Linked DNA regions of Homo sapiens: region 2 is linked to region 1. Evidence: promoter capture Hi-C in human tissues and cell types (Jung and others, 2019). All regions are on one chromosome and are shown on one strand. Each heading gives the region's core, a stretch centred on a gene start or on the middle of the fragment in contact. The rest is flanking DNA. Distances are from core to core; before and after follow the strand shown. Region 1 holds the start of SETD1A (SET domain containing 1A, histone lysine methyltransferase). Region 2 holds the start of ZNF771 (zinc finger protein 771).

Region 1 (4,753 bases), core at 251-2,750:
AGTCCATGAAACTGAACTTGGACTATCTACCCCTCACACGGGAATCTCTCTTTGATTTGAGAAAAGGAACCAGTGCCTTTCAACTGGAACAGAAAGGAATCTGATCTCAACACCTATGCCTCCACGTAAATTATTTTTTTCAGCCTTATTTCCCTCAAAATTGTAGAGTCCTAATCTTCTTCTATCTTGTGGTGTGAGACCTTGGATAAGTCTCCCTTCCACCTTTTCCTATTACTTAAAATGGTGAATTTGCATAAACCAGGCTCTAAGGGTCTTTTCTGCACTGTTCGGATGTGTACAAATTGACATCCAAGTTTAAAGGAAGACTCTGAAACTTAGGTCAATGACTTGCCCAAGGCCATATAGCGAGGGCCTGATGTACACATATCAGGAGCTTGGGGCATCCTCAGCTCAGGAAAAGGGACCTCCTGGGAGTGCCTGCGCCCACACGGGATCAAAACGGTGCCCAGCCTTCAGAAACCTCAGCCCGAGTTCCAGGGGTAGGCCTGGGCCGCTGCTGCCCTTGTGCGGAGGCATCCCGTGAGCATAGGGCGCCATAGCCAAAGAAGCGGGCAGTGGGACCATGACGCCAGGAGGACACACCAGTCCAGTCCCGTTCCTGTAGGACCTCGTTTATTATTACAAGGCCCATTTAAGGGCACTTAGGCCCCACTAGGCTCATCAGAAAACCTTGAGGCGGTCCCTGGATTTAACCACTAATGGTGGGTTTGAGTACGGCAAAGTAGGGCACCTTCTACAGGCCTCACTCTCCCCATCTGGCAAATGGGCATCCTAAGCAGCCAGACACCCAAGGGCAATAACGGGAAGGAAAGGTACCCTGCATTTATGTGCGAGGCGGGGCAAACCGCCTGAGTCACCGCTCACGGTTGTGTTTTTCCACCTCCCGGCCGTCCCTCCCATCCGGGTGAGTCCTCGTGGGTCCTCCCGGAGGCGCCCCCTAGTCCCAGGCTCTGCACGCCCTGGCCCCGCCCCTTGACTCGGCCCCGCCCACAGCGGAATCCGCAGATTCGCCAGGTCGGATCCTCAGAATTCCTCGGGTCCCTCGATACTCGGCTGAAAATTCTCATCGGACTCTGAGAGGAGCGCTGGGCTGGAGGCATTTTCCCCAGGGACAGAAGCGGGCTATTCTCTCACTTGGGCCAGTAAGAAAAATCCAAAAAAAGTTGTCGACTCTGCCAGCAGGGATTGGCTAACGGGCCGTTATTTTCTTGACTCCACCAAGGCGGATGAAGGGGAGGCTACGGCTGAGGCCGGGAACAGTGGCGAATCTGCAGCCTCTCAGAATTTGGCAGTGCAAGGAAGGGACGGGGAAGAGAAGCAAAGCGGCGCGCATCCTGTCCAGCGATTCGCCCCGCCCGCCCGGTGAATCTGCGTCTGCAGAACGCGCCACTGAAGGTTCCCCAGCGCTGGCTGGCCTCCTCCCCTCCGCCCCGCCCCTTTTCCTCAGGGACTAGTCGCAGCTTTCGTCGCCGCCGATTCGTCAAGGTCCCGGGCCGCAGCATCTAGATCGTCGTGGCGAAGCCGACTCTCCGGGGGATGCGGCCAATCTCCAAGCTCCCTGGGCCGCAACTTCCGAGCCTCCCAGGGCGCCGGCCGAGGCGAAGCCGCTACCCTCGGCCCCGTGGGTCCCCCGGCAGCGCCTGTGGCGAAAGTGCGAATGCAGACCCTGTGCCCGCTGGGCCTCGCGCAGGTGGCAGTGGTGTTTGGTGCGCGCGCCGGGGAGGTGGTGGTGGGGGGGCGCCGCCGCCGCCACCGCTGCGGGGCCGGGTCTCGCGCTGCCGCTGCCGCCGCCTCGCGCCGCTGAGGTGCCGCGCGAGGTGGGGGGAGGGGGAGCCGCTCGCCGGGAGCGGGTGAGTGGGGCCGCGCGGCGCGCGTGCGCGGAGACCTGCTGGGGGGGGTGCAGAACGCGCCGGGGCGGGAGGAGAGGGCAGCGGTGCACGTTCCCCCCACCCCCCCGCCCGGATTCGGGGTCGAAGCCGGGTCTCGGGCTCGGTCTCGCGGTGTTTCCAACGCCCCGAAGAGGTGCCACCTTTCGGCCGGAGGATCGGGGCGCGGGGAGGAGAGCGGGTGTGTGGGAGCCGTGGCCGGGCTCGGCCCGGGCCGCTGGCCGGTGAGGAGGCGGGAGGGGGCGGGGCCTGCAGGGGGCGGGGGAGGGGTCTTGCTCCGAGGCCAAGTGGGGCGCGCGCTAGGGAGAGCGGGAAGGTAAGGGGGCTCGAGACGGGCCTGGGGGCCTGACAGTAGAGTTGGGAGGTGGAAAGAGGCTGGGTTGTTGTGGCGAAACAGAGGGTACTTGGGGGAGAATCCGGGGGAGCCCCGGGTCAGGGTGAGGGTTGGAAACTGGAGTGATGGGAGAACCTGGAATCGGGGCTAGCCAATGAGGAAAGGCAGGGGAGTCAGGCCCCAAGTCCTGATCCTTCTTGCGTGTCCCTCTTCCCCTAACAGTGTAAATGAGCAAAGATGGATCAGGAAGGTGGGGGAGATGGGCAGAAGGCCCCGAGCTTCCAGTGGCGGAACTACAAGCTCATCGTGGATCCTGCCTTGGACCCTGCCCTGCGCAGGCCTTCTCAGAAGGTGTACCGCTATGATGGAGTCCACTTCAGTGTCAACGTGAGTGCCCGGGTCTTTGGTTGCCATCCGGGGAGCTCCAGGCGCCCGTCCTCTGTGATTCTGTTCAGCACCTAGAACGGTAGCCTGCCTTCTTGAAAGTGGGCAGTTGGACCCAGCTCTTCTGCATGTGTGTGTCCAGATGGGCTGCTTGGAGCTCCCTAGCCTGGATTCACCCTGAGCTCTCTTTCTGCTGCTGCTTTCCTTCCTAGGACTCAAAGTATATACCAGTCGAAGACCTCCAAGACCCCCGTTGCCATGTCAGGTCCAAAAACAGAGACTTTTCCCTCCCAGTCCCTAAGTTTAAGGTAAGTGTCTGCTGGGCTCCTGGTGTGGTAGTCCTAAGAGGGTGTGGAGGATGCGTCTTGGCACTATAGCTGAATAAAAGGGTTTCCAATGAAAGGATCTCAGCCAGATCTAGCAACCTCTGAGGCTGTGAGACTCAGTTGTTTTGGATAGGAGGTACACTTAATCTTCCAGAAAGGTGCAGGTCAGGTGTCCTAAGTGTATCCCTGGTGGCTGGGGTGTCGACTTCTTGAAGGGTGAGGTAAAGACTCTTTAGCTGCTATACCTATCACTGTATATTCGTAGACAGTGCATCATAGCACACAAGAGTGGGATCTCCCAGTTCCTTGACAGTCAAGGGGAGTGACAAGGCCACTGCCTACCTGGGTAGCACTATTCCCCGCCTCTCATTTGGCGATGTCATTTCCCTCTTGTTTCCTTCGAGGACTCCTATTCTCCACCCTAGACAAGATATTCTTCAGGCCTTGAACTGGGCCTGGAACACTGGTGGTTCTTCATTTCCTTCTCTGATTCTTTATTCTTCCTTTCTAAATAAATTGTTTGTGGGGTCCCTTCATTCTTCTTCTTCTTTTTTTTTTTTTTACTTTGTACACTTCACTTGGACAATCTCTTTCACACCCACAGCTTCAACTATTACCTAAATGTTGATGACTTCCAAGTATCTGTTTCCAGCCAACATCTCTAGGCTTGTATGCCTGGTAGGGGGACAGTTTCATTTGGAGGCCACACATGTTTCAGATTTAAGGGATTTAAAACAAATTATCTACCTCCTTAACCTACCTTTTTCATTTTCCCTCTACTCATATGTGGCAGTACCATCGACTCAGCTGTACAGCCTGGCAGCCTGTGATTCTCTCCTTTTCTCTCTCAGTTGGTCACCGAATCCTCCTGGCTCTTTTCTTTTTTATTCTTCATCTTTCTATTCTCATTGCCACTTAATGTAGACCTTGGTATTCATTTCACCTGGTCTCCTTGCCTTCGTTCTTGCCTCAGTTTCTCCTCTGCCTTGCTGTCATTTGTCTCTTTGGCTTCACTACGCTGCTGTTTTCCTTTTGTTGCCAAGTCCATGTTTTGGGACACTGACATGTATGGTTATTGACCTGGCCAAGCCTTATCCTCCGCCTTGACACCACACCCCTGTGTTACATCCACACCATAACGCTTTGCGGTTTTTCAAAAACACCAAGTTGTTTTATATTTCCATGTTCCAGGGGTCCTTGTCATTTGATGAATTGTTAATCCCCAAATCTCAGTAAGAATGACACCATCTTTATGAATTCTTCCCTGATCATACTCTGTACAAAAGTTTCCTTCCCTGGGCTCCAGAACACCATGTATGCGTCAGCTGCCACTGGGTCGTGTTGTGTTTGTATGTGCATGTCATGCTGCTTTTCTGTATGGGAATCTCTTCCTTTCTATCTCTGTATTTCCAGTGCCTCGTTCATGGTAGTTACCTAGTAAAGGCTGAGCTAGGAAATCATCGCCCTGTAGCTCGTTCTCTCCACGTATATTTATTCCTCAGTGTGTACATTTCTTTCTTTCTTTCTTTTTTTTTTTTTTTTTTTTTTTGAGACGGAGTCTCGCTGTGTTGCCCAGGCTGGAGTGCAGTGGTGTGATCTCGGCTTAGTGCAACCTCTGCCTGCCAGGTTCAAGTGATTCTCCTGCCTCACCCTCCTGAGTAGCTGGGATTACAGGTGCCCACCATCACATCCAGCTAAATTTTTTTTTTTGTATTTTTAGTAGAGACAGGGTTTTATCATGTTGGACAGGCTGGTCTTGAACTCCTGACTTCTGGTGATCCGTCCACCTCATCCTCCCAAAG
Region 2 (5,222 bases), core at 190-2,689, 550 kb before region 1:
TTTTTATATGAAATATCCCAATTTAATTTTTTTTTTCTTGAGACGGAGTTTCGCTCTTGTTGCCTAGGCTGGAGACCAATGGCATGATCTCGGCTCACTGCAACCACTGCCTCCCCAGTTCAAGCAATTCTCGTGCCTCAGCCTCTCGAGTAGCTGGGATTACAGGCATGCACCACCAAGCTTGGCTAATTTTTGTATTTTTAGTAGAGACGGGGTTTCACCATGTTGGTTAGGCTGGTCTCGAAATCCTGACCTCAAGTGATCCACCGGCCTCCGCCTCCCAAAGTGCTGGGATTACAGGCATGAGCCACCGCGCCCGGCTTTGAAACGATTTTTTTTTTTTTTTTTTTTTTTTTTTTTTGAGACGGAGTCTCGCTCTGTCGCCCAGGCTGGAGCGCAGTGGCGCGATCTCGGCTAACTGCAAGCTCGCCTCCCGGGTTCACGCCATTCTCCTGTCTCAGCCTCCCGAGTAGCTGGCACTACAGGTGCCCGCCACCACGCCCAGCTAATTTTTTGTATTTTGTTTAGTAGAGTCGGGGTTTCACCGTGTTAGCCAGGATGGTCTCTATCTCCTGACCTCGTGATCCGCCCGCCTCGGCCTCCTAAAGTGCTGGGATTACAGGCGTGAGCCGCCGTGCCCGTCCGAAAAGATTTTTTAAAAGTAAAAATACCCTAAGGGCCAAACAAGGTACCCCTGTGGACTGGATTTAGCTTTGGGCTGTTGTTCACCTAGGCTACTGATTGTCAGGGATGCTATGACATCCTTATCGTGTAACTTAGGCAAATCAGTTTACCTCCCTGAACTTCAGTGAGCTCATCTGTAAAATGGATCAGGACCCATCGTTATGCGGATCAAATGAGACCAGGTATGTAAGACGCTGAACAGCGCTGGCGCATGGTAAGCACCCCACGCATGACGCGACAGCGGTAGCTTGGGTGGATGTTGAATTGGTTAGGATGTATTCAAGGATATCCCAGAGGCCAGCGGAATAGGCGAAGCCGAGAAAGATGGAGAAAAGACGGCAGAGGAGATAAAGAGGGAATGGAAGAAGTGAGGAGGCAACAGGGTCCGCCCTCCAGGCGGGGCGCCAGGGAGAGGCCCAGGCCGGGGCGGGAGCGCACGTGGCCTATTTCGGGCGGAGCAGAGGCACTGGGCGCAGCGGAGACCTCCAAGCCGGCCCCAGGAGACGGGCCGCGAGGTTAGGTTGGAACTCGGCGGCAAGGACCTTGAACGCCGGGCTGGGGCGGCTCCAGGTGCTTGGGAGTCGGGGGACTGCGGAGGACGCCAAGTCTGAGCTCGCCGCCCTCTCCGAGCCGTTTGGGCCGGACGCCTGGGTCCTTCGGGCTCCGCCCCAGGGGGTGGGGCTATATGTTCGGACCAATGACCGGCCGTCCCTGCGGTCCCGCCCCCTCCCCGCCCCCGGAGCCGCGGCCTCGCTGAGTGCCCAGCCGCCCGGCGCCCAGGCCTGGGGCACCGCGAGTGCCGAACCTTCGGCTGGTGAGTGCGCACCCCCTCCCCGGGGTTTCCGCCCCGATCCCGCCTCCAGCCCGTGCCCCAGAGCTCCAGGTCGCCGACCCGGGCCCTGGGGAGTGACTCAGCGCAAGGATGGTGGCGACTTGCGGGGGCTGGAGATTCGAACTGTTCAAGGCCTTGAATGCTGGGATGAGTGGGGTGAACGCGAGCCCTCGGAGCTGGTCCCGGGGCTGTGCCAGAGCGTGGGGCCGGGCTGGGGTGGACGGGAGAGGACCAGATTCGGAGACCAGGGCAGGGCGGGAGAAGCCACGGCTGCACTGCCTTGCTGGGCCAGGGCCACGGTGGGCGGGGGGGGGGGTGGGGGGGGGCGGGTCCTGAGCTTCTGATCCAGCTCCCCGCCTCAGGACACCAAGATGCCTGGCGAACAGCAGGCAGAGGAAGAGGAGGAGGAAGAGATGCAGGAGGAGATGGTGCTGCTGGTGAAGGGTGAGGAGGATGAGGGTGAGGAGAAGTATGAGGTGGTGAAACTCAAGATCCCCATGGACAACAAGGAGGTATGTGTCACACACACCCTGGGGCACACTGTCCCCAAACCTGGTCCAGGCCCAGCCTCCCTCAGATAGAAGCCAGGGATCTTGCCCCTACTTTTCCCAGAATCTCGGATCTAAAACCTCAGGATTGGCCCATCCTTCTGCCCTACTGCCTGGGCTTCCATCATACAAAAGTCACGCCTACTGTCCCAGGCTTCCTGCTGGGTGCAGGAGATTAAACTCCGTCCTTGGATCCCCCATGGAGCTTGATGTTAGACTGAAGGGTAACCACACAGTTAGAATCCCGTGTGATGGCTGCAGGTACAGGGGGATGATGAAGCCTAGAAGTGGGAACTTAACTCAGATTTAGAGGTTGGGGAAAGGTCAGGTTAGTTCAACAGCAACAGTAACAATAGCTAACCCTTGCCTAGCATTTTCTATGTGCCAGGCACTGTTCTAAGCACCTCGATTCTATGATGTCGGTAGCATTTATTCCATTTTACAGATGAGGAGACTGAGGCCCAGGGCAGTTTGGTAACTGGCCACAGGTCTCAAAGTAAAAGGATGGCTTATGTGAGACTAGTAGGAGTCTGGGGTCAGAAGTGGGGTGATGGACCCAGTCAGAGGAAATGGCTCTTTTATTATTACTGTTGTTATTGTTTGAGACAGGGTCTCATTCAGTCACCCAAGCTGTAGTGCAGTACAGCTCACTGCAGCCTTGACTTCCCTGGGCTCAGGTGATCCTCCCACCTCAGCCTCCCAAGTAGCTGGGACTACAGGCATGCACCACTACACCTGGCTAATTTTTTTTTGTTTTGTTTTGAGACAGAGTTTCGCTCTGTTGCCCAGGCTGGAGTGCAGTGGCGTGATCTCGGCTCACTGCAGCCTCCACCTCCCGGGTTCAAGTGGTTCTCCTACCTCAGCCTCCCAAGAAGCTGGGATTACAGGCATGCACCACCACGCCCGGCTAATTTTTTGTATTTTCAGTAGAGTTGGGGTTTTGCCATGTTGGCCAGACTGGTCTCAAACTCCTGAGTTCAGGTGATCCTCCCACCTCAGCCTCCCAAAGTGCTGGGATTATAGGTGTGAGCCACCGTATCCAGCCAGAAATGGCCCTTATAGAGGCTCAGACGAGTGAGTAGTGCACTGCAGCAGTGAGGGTGGGTGGTTCGGTCATGCTGTAGTGTGGATGAGTGGGGGTGGTTGGCAGGCCACACAGGGAGTCTGGCTTTTATTCTGAGGGTATTTGAAGGTTTTGAGATCAGAATATGAGTTAAATTTCACCCCCTGGAGACCCTAACTGCCACCAGATACGTTTCCGCTTCTCAGAACCCCAGAGGATTCTGTCTGCCCCCAGCCTGAGCAGCCCTGAGTACCAGCAGAGGGCTTTGGCCCCAGGGACCCAGCTTGCAGGGGCCGGGACTCTGATTCTTCCTGCCCAGGAGCCAGTTCCCAGGGAAAGAATGCTCTGCTGCCCCCTAGTGGGCCTGCTGGGTGCTGGGGGAGGGGACTAGCTCCTTAGGCCTCTGGATAGTCTAATAACTATCTGGTTGTGTTTGTTGCGGGCCCCCTTCGCCCATTATCCAGCTCTGCCTGCCTCTTCTGGCCCTGCGATTGCCTGATCTCCACCTTTGGCCTCTAAGTTACAAACACAGGCTCCAGAGCTTAGGGTGGACTTCCAGCTCCATCATTTACCCGCTGTGTGACCTTGGCCAAGTTTCCTAACCGCTCCACGCCTCAGTTTCCTCATTTGTAAAAGGGAAATTATAACAGCACCTACATCTTGGAGTTGTGAGGAATGAATGAGTCAACACATGCACAGAGTTAGAACTGTGTCTGGCACAAAATAAACACGGAAATAGTTGCTGTTACATTTATTCTTCTCCCCAAAGCTCAGGACCTTGGGCAAGGTCATCCTTCTTGAGATTTTTCAACTTTTTTTTTTTTTTTTGAGACGGAGTCTCACTATGTCGCCCAGGCTGGAGTGCAGTGGCGCAATCTTGGTTCACCGCACCTCCACCTACCGGGTTCATGCCATTCTCCTGCCTCAGTCTCCTGAGTAGCTGGGATTATAGGTGCGCACTACCATGCCCAGCTAATTTTTGTATTTTTAGTAGAGGTGGGGTTTCACCATATTGGTCAGGCTGGTCTCGAACTCCTGACCTCATGATCCGCCCGCCTCGGCCTCCCAAAGTGTTGGGATTACAGGCGTGAGCCACCACGCCTGGCTCAACTCATTTTTATCAAAGGCCTGGGCTGAACCATGAGAACTGGGGTTGATCAGGGAAGTGAATGTGGGGGCACAGAGGATTGAAGACAAACGACTCAAGGCAGTGGGGAAGGCTTCCCAGAGGAGATGATTTTTGACTTGGGCCTTGAAGGCTTTGCAGGGGTTTGGCACATGGAGGAGGAGGAAGGGCATTCCAGGAGGAGGAAACAGCAAAAACAAAGACTCAGAGGAAATGAGACTGGAAAGGCAGTTGGGGGACAGAGGGGCCTTGCAAGCTAGGGCAGGACGTACTGTGTTAGGTTCTGTGGCACCATAAGAAGCCTTAAATCATGGGAAGAGCCAGGCGTGGTGGCTCACACCTGTAATCCTAGCACTTTGGAAAGCCAAGGTGGGAGGATCACTTGAGCCCAGGAGTTCGATTCCTCCCTGGGCAACATAGGGAGACCTCATCTCTACAAAAAAAAAAAAAAAAAAAAAAAAAAAGTTTAATTAGCTGGGCATGGTGGCATGCCTGTAGTCCTAGCTACTCTGGAGGCTGAATGATCCCAGGAGTTCAAGGCTGCAGTGAGCCATGACTGCACCACTGTACTCCAGCCTGGGCAACAGAGAGAGACCCTGTCTCAAAAAACAAAAACAGGCCAGGCGTGGTGGCTCATGCCTGTAATCCCAGCACTTTGGGAGGCTGAGGCGGGCGGATCACTTGAGGTCAGGAGTTCGAGACCAGCCTTGCCAACATGGTGAAACCCCATCTCTACTAAAAATACAAAAATTAGCCGGGTGTGGTGGCACCTGCTTGCAATCCCAGCTACTTGGGAGGCTGAGGCAGGAGAATCGCTTGAATCTGGGAGGCGGAGGTTGCAGTGAGCTGAGATTGCACCGCTGCACTCCAGCCTGGGCAACAGAGCAAGATTCCATCTCAAAAAAAAAAAAAAATCAGAGGAGGGACATGATTGGATTTTCTGTTTAGAAGAATTATTGGCTGCTACAG

What was found. Contacts are between HindIII fragments. The study calls those that stand out against the background at their distance.
Region 2: the fragment with the promoter of ZNF771 here is called in contact with the fragment with the promoter of SETD1A in region 1 in 1 of the 25 tissues and cell types used here (aorta).

The regions. Positions count from the first base shown.
Region 1 is chr16:30,956,254-30,961,006 of GRCh38, forward strand. SETD1A (SET domain containing 1A, histone lysine methyltransferase) reads left to right here and starts at 1,501. Exons shown (of 19, transcript NM_014712.3): 1 at 1,501-1,711; 2 at 2,464-2,628; 3 at 2,838-2,933. The coding sequence starts at 2,479. RefSeq lists enhancers at 809-1,572, 1,030-1,159 and silencers at 1,760-1,979, 2,120-2,209. The HindIII fragment of the contact is 8,587 bases long and covers 584-4,753 here.
Region 2 is chr16:30,406,167-30,411,388 of GRCh38, forward strand. ZNF771 (zinc finger protein 771) reads left to right here and starts at 1,440. Exons shown (of 3, transcript NM_001142305.2): 1 at 1,440-1,498; 2 at 1,879-2,028. The coding sequence starts at 1,888. RefSeq lists silencers at 1,164-1,343, 1,366-1,575, 3,410-3,499. The HindIII fragment of the contact is 10,608 bases long and covers 1-5,222 here.